Regions from separate parts of the Homo sapiens genome. Here region 1 is linked to region 2. The links are contacts of gene promoters, found by promoter capture Hi-C in blood cells and fetal thymus (Javierre and others, 2016). All regions are on one chromosome and are shown on one strand. Each heading gives the region's core, a stretch centred on a gene start or on the middle of the fragment in contact. The rest is flanking DNA. Distances are from core to core; before and after follow the strand shown. Region 1 overlaps ZNF544 (zinc finger protein 544). Region 2 holds the start of ZNF549 (zinc finger protein 549).

Region 1 (2,700 bases), core at 78-2,577, 720 kb after region 2:
CTGCTGCAGCCAGGAAGAGTAGCTGGGATTACAGGCATGTGCCACCATGCCTGGCTAATTTTTGTATTTTTAGTAGAGACGGGGTTTCACCATGTTGGCCAGGCTGGTCTCGAACTCCTGACCTTGTGATCTGCCCGCCTCGGCCTCCCAAAGTGCTGGGATTACAGGCGTGAGCCACCGTGCCCGGTCAATCACCTTCTTCAACAGTCACTTTGGGAGTTAGGGTTCAACATGTGAATTTTGGGAACACAGTTTATTCTATAGCATTAGCCTTTTGAAAACACACCACAGCCCTGATTTGTCCTACAGGCTGCAGTTTTCCCACCCCGATTTAGAGTGTCTTTCTTACCTCATTTCGAATCTGTGATTTTTGTAGAGAGGAAGTGGGTGAGGATCTCCTAGTGGAGTTCCTGTCATTTCCAGTCTAGAAATCAGGACCACTGCTGTGACTGGCAAGAGGTGAGATGCCCAGAAAAGGAATGGTACAGACCACATACATGGAGCTGTCCCAGTCCGTTTGGGTTGCTATAATAAGATACCTTAGAGTGAGCAATTTACAAACAACAGAATTGACTGCTCATAGTTCTGGAGGCTGGTAAGTCCAAGATCAATGTGTCAACAGAGTTGGTCTGGTTGGGGCCTGCTGTCTCATAGATGGCACCTCTTACATGTCCTCATATGGTAGAAGGTGAACACAGGCTCCCTCAAGCCTCTTTTATGAGGACATTAATTGCCTTGTAAAGACCCCACCTCTTAACACTATCTCACTGGGTATTAGGTTCCAATGTATGAATTTTACGGGGGGACACCAACATTTAGGCCTTAACAGGTACCTCCGTGAGGGCATGAGGACCTGGGGTCTCTGAGCAGTAACAAGTGCCCTGTTTCAGGCATCTGTGTGCTTCGAGGATGTGGCTATGGCATTCACACAGGAGGAGTGGGAACAGCTGGACCTGGCCCAGAGGACACTGTACCGAGAGGTGACACTGGAGACCTGGGAGCATATTGTCTCCCTGGGTAAGTGGCTGTGCTCATGGAAGGAGGTTCTACCCCTAGGACTCAAAGCTGTACCAAGTTCTGAAGGGTGTTCTGGGATGTGCTGGAAGATACTGGAAGCAGGTCCCTTTCAGGTGCAGTTCCCAGGGGTTGCCCTTCATTCTATCTCTGGGACAGGTTTGTGACTTGTAGTCCTAACAGTGGGGAGTTTCCTCGGGACAGCACTAGGGGCTGAAGCTTGGACCCAGGACATGGTTCTTGGTGTCCAAGCAGAGGGGCAAGTCCTTTTTCCGTCTTTGACCAGGGCTTTTCCTTTCCAAATCTGATGTGATCTCTCAGCTGGAGCAAGAAGAGGACCTGTGCAGGGCAGAGCAGGAGGCCCCCCGAGGTAAGAGCAGACCTTGTGGTGAGCAGCTCAACGTTTAACAAGCTTGGACAGAGAGCTCTCCGCAGGGCCCCAGGGGCCAAGGAGGGAGCCTTGTTTGGAGGAAGCCTCCTTGGGTGCTCTTTGCAGCAGTTCACCCATTCAAAGGAGTTCACCAATTCGAAGTATGCAGTTCATGGCTTCCAGTGTCTTCCCTGAGTGTGGAACCCTCACCACAATCAGTTCTAGAACATGTTCATCATCCCAACCATTTAGGCCTCTTTACTTGATTTGTTTTTTTTTAATTAATGTATGTATTTATTTATTTATTTTGAGATAGGGTTTTACTCTGTTGCCCAGGCTGAAGTGCAGTGGCGCTGTCTTGGCTCACTATAGCCCCCATCTCCCTGGCTCAAGCAATTCTCATGCGTCAGCCTCCCTAGTAGCTTGGACTACAGGTGCACACTGCCACACCTGGCTAATTCTTTTGTTTTTGTTTTTGTTTTTTAAGACGGAGTTTCGCTCTTGTTGCCCAGACTGGAGTGCAATGGCACAATCTCGGCTCACCACAACCTCCACCTCCCAGGTTCAAGTGATTCTCCTGCCTCAGCCTCCCAAGTAGCTGGGATTACAGGCATGTCCACCATGCCCGGCTAATTTTTTGTATTTTTAGTGGAGACAGAGTTTCACCGTGTTAGCCAGGATGGTCTTGATCTCCTGACCTCATGATCCGCCCGCCTCAGCCTCCCAAAGTGCTGAGATTACAGGTGTGAGCCATCACGCCTGGCCCTAATTTTGTATTTTTATTAGAGGTGGGGTTTCTCCATGTTGGTCAGGCTGGTCTCGAACTCCCGACCTCAGGTGATCCACCTGCCTCAGCCTCCCAAAGTGCCGGGATTACAGGTATGAGCCACTGCACCTGGCCATTAATTTTTGTATTTTTAATGGAGATAGGGTTTCATCATGTTGCCCAGGCTAATAGACTTTATTTTTTAGAGCAGTTTTAGGTTTATAGGTAAGTTGACGAGAAAGTGCAGAGTTCCCACCCATGTCTGCTGTCCTACAGACACATGCAGTGTCTCCTGCTGTTAACAACTTGGATTTGTATTGTACATCTGTTACAATCGGCAAACCTATCTTGAGGCATCCTTTTTTTTTTTCCCAGACAGAGTCTCACTCTGTCACCAGGCTGGCGTACAGTGGTGTGATCTCAGCTCACTGCAACCTCCGCCCCCCAGGTTCAAGTGATTTTCCTGCCTCAACCTCCCAACTAACTGGGACTACAGGCACGCACCACCACGCCCAGCTAATTTTTGTATTTTTAGTAGAGTCAGAGTTTC
Region 2 (2,700 bases), core at 151-2,650:
ATAAAAAGAAATCTAGCCCCTTCTTCGGGGCCAAGAATTTTGAGCTCTAGCTGTCTCTCGGTCGCTGGCAATAAAAGGACTCCAGAATTAGTCTCAGAGTGTGGCATTTCTCTATAACTCGCTCGGTTACAACACTATAGCCAAAGATTACATTCATAAAGATATTTTTACAATATAGGTGTCTTATTTAATATGACTCCAATCTAAATGGTAATTTTTCTAACCTTTCTTAAGTAATTATAAAATGTCAAAATTATAAACAATTAAAAACTAAAGAGAAATGAAGACAATGGATAGCAACAAAAGCTAATTGCTAAATATGGGGGAAAAAAGCCAGGCATGGTGGCTCATGCTTGTAATCCCAGCACTTTAAGGCAGGCGAATCACTTGAGGCCGGTTCTAGACCAGCCTGGCCAACATGGTGAAACCCTGTCTCTACTAAAAATACAAAAATTATCCGGGGGTGGTGGCGCATGCCTGTAGTCCCGGCTACTCGGGAGGCTGAGGCAGGAGAATCGCTTGAACCTGGGAGGTGGAGGTTACAGTGAGCAGAGATTGCACCACTGTACTCCAGTCTGGGCGACAGAGTGAGACTCTGTCAAAAAAAAAAAAGGAAAAAAAGAAAAGAAAAAGAAGATATAATGTTTCTGCAATCTCATTTCAGTTCCACTTATGATAATAGATACATTATGTAATTTAAGTCACTAACACTTGAGGGCAAAAAAACAGAATAAACACAAACGTGTGGGATAAGGGGATGCTGACCCCACTGTTAGTGATCACCTTGGTTGGAGACCCAGGTTTTATCATACAGATGAAGCCTGCAGGTAGCAAGTTTCAGAGAAATAGATTGTAAATGTTTCTTATCAGACTTAAGGTCTATGCTGATGTTATTGCTGTAGGGGTAGAATGAGGCATGTCCAACCCCTTCTTCCATAATGGCCTGAACTAGATTTTCAGGTTAACTCTATAATGCTGAGAGGAGGGGGTCCATTCAGATAGTTGGGAGGCCTTTGAATTTTATTTTTGGTTATAGTTTCTACATTAAAAAAAAGAAAAAAATTAAGGGTCGCGTCAATTCTCAATTGTCAACATTTTTAATGTATTGTATGCAATATATGTCAACTTTTGTGTTGAGAAATGAAGATCAAATCGTATTCTTTTATCCTGTGTATGTAATAGGCTTTGCTGACCCTAGTTTGATGGGTTTTTTCCTTTGTCCTCTCTTTCTTGGATTGAGTCCTCACAGCGCGGCGGACTGCGGCGTGGTAGGAACTACACCACCCAGAATACTGTGCGCCGAGCGTGCCGGGGCCTTAGACCAATCATTGCCCAGGAAAGGGGCACCTCCGTAAGTGCGCAATACGCCAGAATCTTCCGGCGTCTTTCCGGTGGTGGTCGTTTTTGCTGCCTGCGAGCGCGTCCGCGGGCTGGGCGTTTCCGGCTCGCTGGGTCCGGGCCAGGTAACTGGAGCCGGAAACCGGTGGAGGTGGTGTCCGCCCGCAGAGGAGCTTGCCTGGTCTCGGTCTGAGCGTCGCCCAGCGATTTGCCACCGCACGCACGCCGGATCCCGGGCTTTACCGCCCGCCTTTCCAGGCCCCGCCCCGCCTAAAGTCCCATGGCCGAGGCAGCGCTAGTGATTACGCCGCAGGTGAGAGCGGAGTCCTCGGATCCTCACCTGGGTCCTGAGGCCCCGGACTGGGGTCACCTGCGTGGGTCTCTGCAGTTCAGGCCTCTTCTCCAGGACAGCGAGGAGTTCTGGGTGGGGTCCTCAGAGCTGACGGGCGGTGAGGTGAAGAAGGGAGAGCGTTGCGTACCGTGGGGGCTGCACGCGCAGAGCCTGGGAGGTGCGCCGGGGTCGCGAGCATTCGGAAACTTGGGGGCGGACCTGTGTCTGCAGGGAGCAGAGAGAATGAGGAGAAGAAGGCACGGCTGCCATGGCAGCCTGAGCAACCGGGGTTTTTAATTCTGAGTCTTTGGGAGCCATGGAGGGTTGTGAACTAAAGGAGAACACGATCTGAGTGAGGGTCTGAAAAAATATTTCAAAGGCAATGAGTGGAGAAAACAGACTGTTACGGAGTGATGGGGGTGGACGCAGGGATACTGGTGAGGAGACTGCTGTAGTAGGCTCCAGGAGGATTATGGTGGATTCTGGACCAGACGGGTTGCTGAAGGGACCTAAGTAATAAGAATCTTGGTAGATCTTAAAGGTAAAGCCAGCAGGATTTTCTGCTCCATCATTTGTGCCTATGAGCAAAAGTGGGAGTGAAGTATGATCCCAAGTTTTTCTTTTACCTGAACATCTGGAAGAGTTGACAAAGAAATCTGGTGAGGGAGCAGGTTTCAGGGAAATAGTAGGAGTTGAATTTTGGACGTGGTGTTTCTAAATTGCCACAGAGTGAAGTTGTTACATGGGCAGTTGGAATCATAAGTAGAAAATTCATGGGAGGGGACTGACTCAGTGATGTGTAAATGGAGACAGGCTGGGGCGTAGACTCAAGCCAAGCCTTAAATTTAGACGGGAAATCTTAAGGTTTTACTTTGAGATGAAGAGAGGGAGGGCTGAGGCTGGAGGCTGGGAAAGTGTGGGTCGGCCTTGGCGAAGCTGCCTGCAGATAGGAGGGCCATGGGGTTCCGGGGGTACTTCCAAAGGGAATGTGTAAGGAATACACACTGCATAGGATGGATTTGAGGGTGGGA

What was found. Contacts are between HindIII fragments. The CHiCAGO score rates a contact against its expected background, and 5 or more counts as called.
Region 1: a contact is called between a fragment that was not itself captured here and the fragment with the promoter of ZNF549 in region 2, in 1 of 17 cell types (non-activated CD4 T cells). The highest score is 5.1, in non-activated CD4 T cells.

The regions. Positions count from the first base shown.
Region 1 is chr19:58,245,411-58,248,110 of GRCh38, forward strand. It overlaps ZNF544 (zinc finger protein 544), which reads left to right. Exons shown (of 7, transcript NM_014480.4): 5 at 891-1,017; 6 at 1,301-1,384. Among named protein-coding and RNA genes, the nearest start is that of ZNF544, 18 kb to the left of the region's middle. The HindIII fragment of the contact is 193 bases long and covers 1,232-1,424 here.
Region 2 is chr19:57,525,956-57,528,655 of GRCh38, forward strand. It overlaps ZNF549 (zinc finger protein 549), which reads left to right and starts at 1,401. Exons shown (of 4, transcript NM_001199295.2): 1 at 1,401-1,651. The coding sequence starts at 1,619. The HindIII fragment of the contact is 12,430 bases long and covers 1-2,700 here.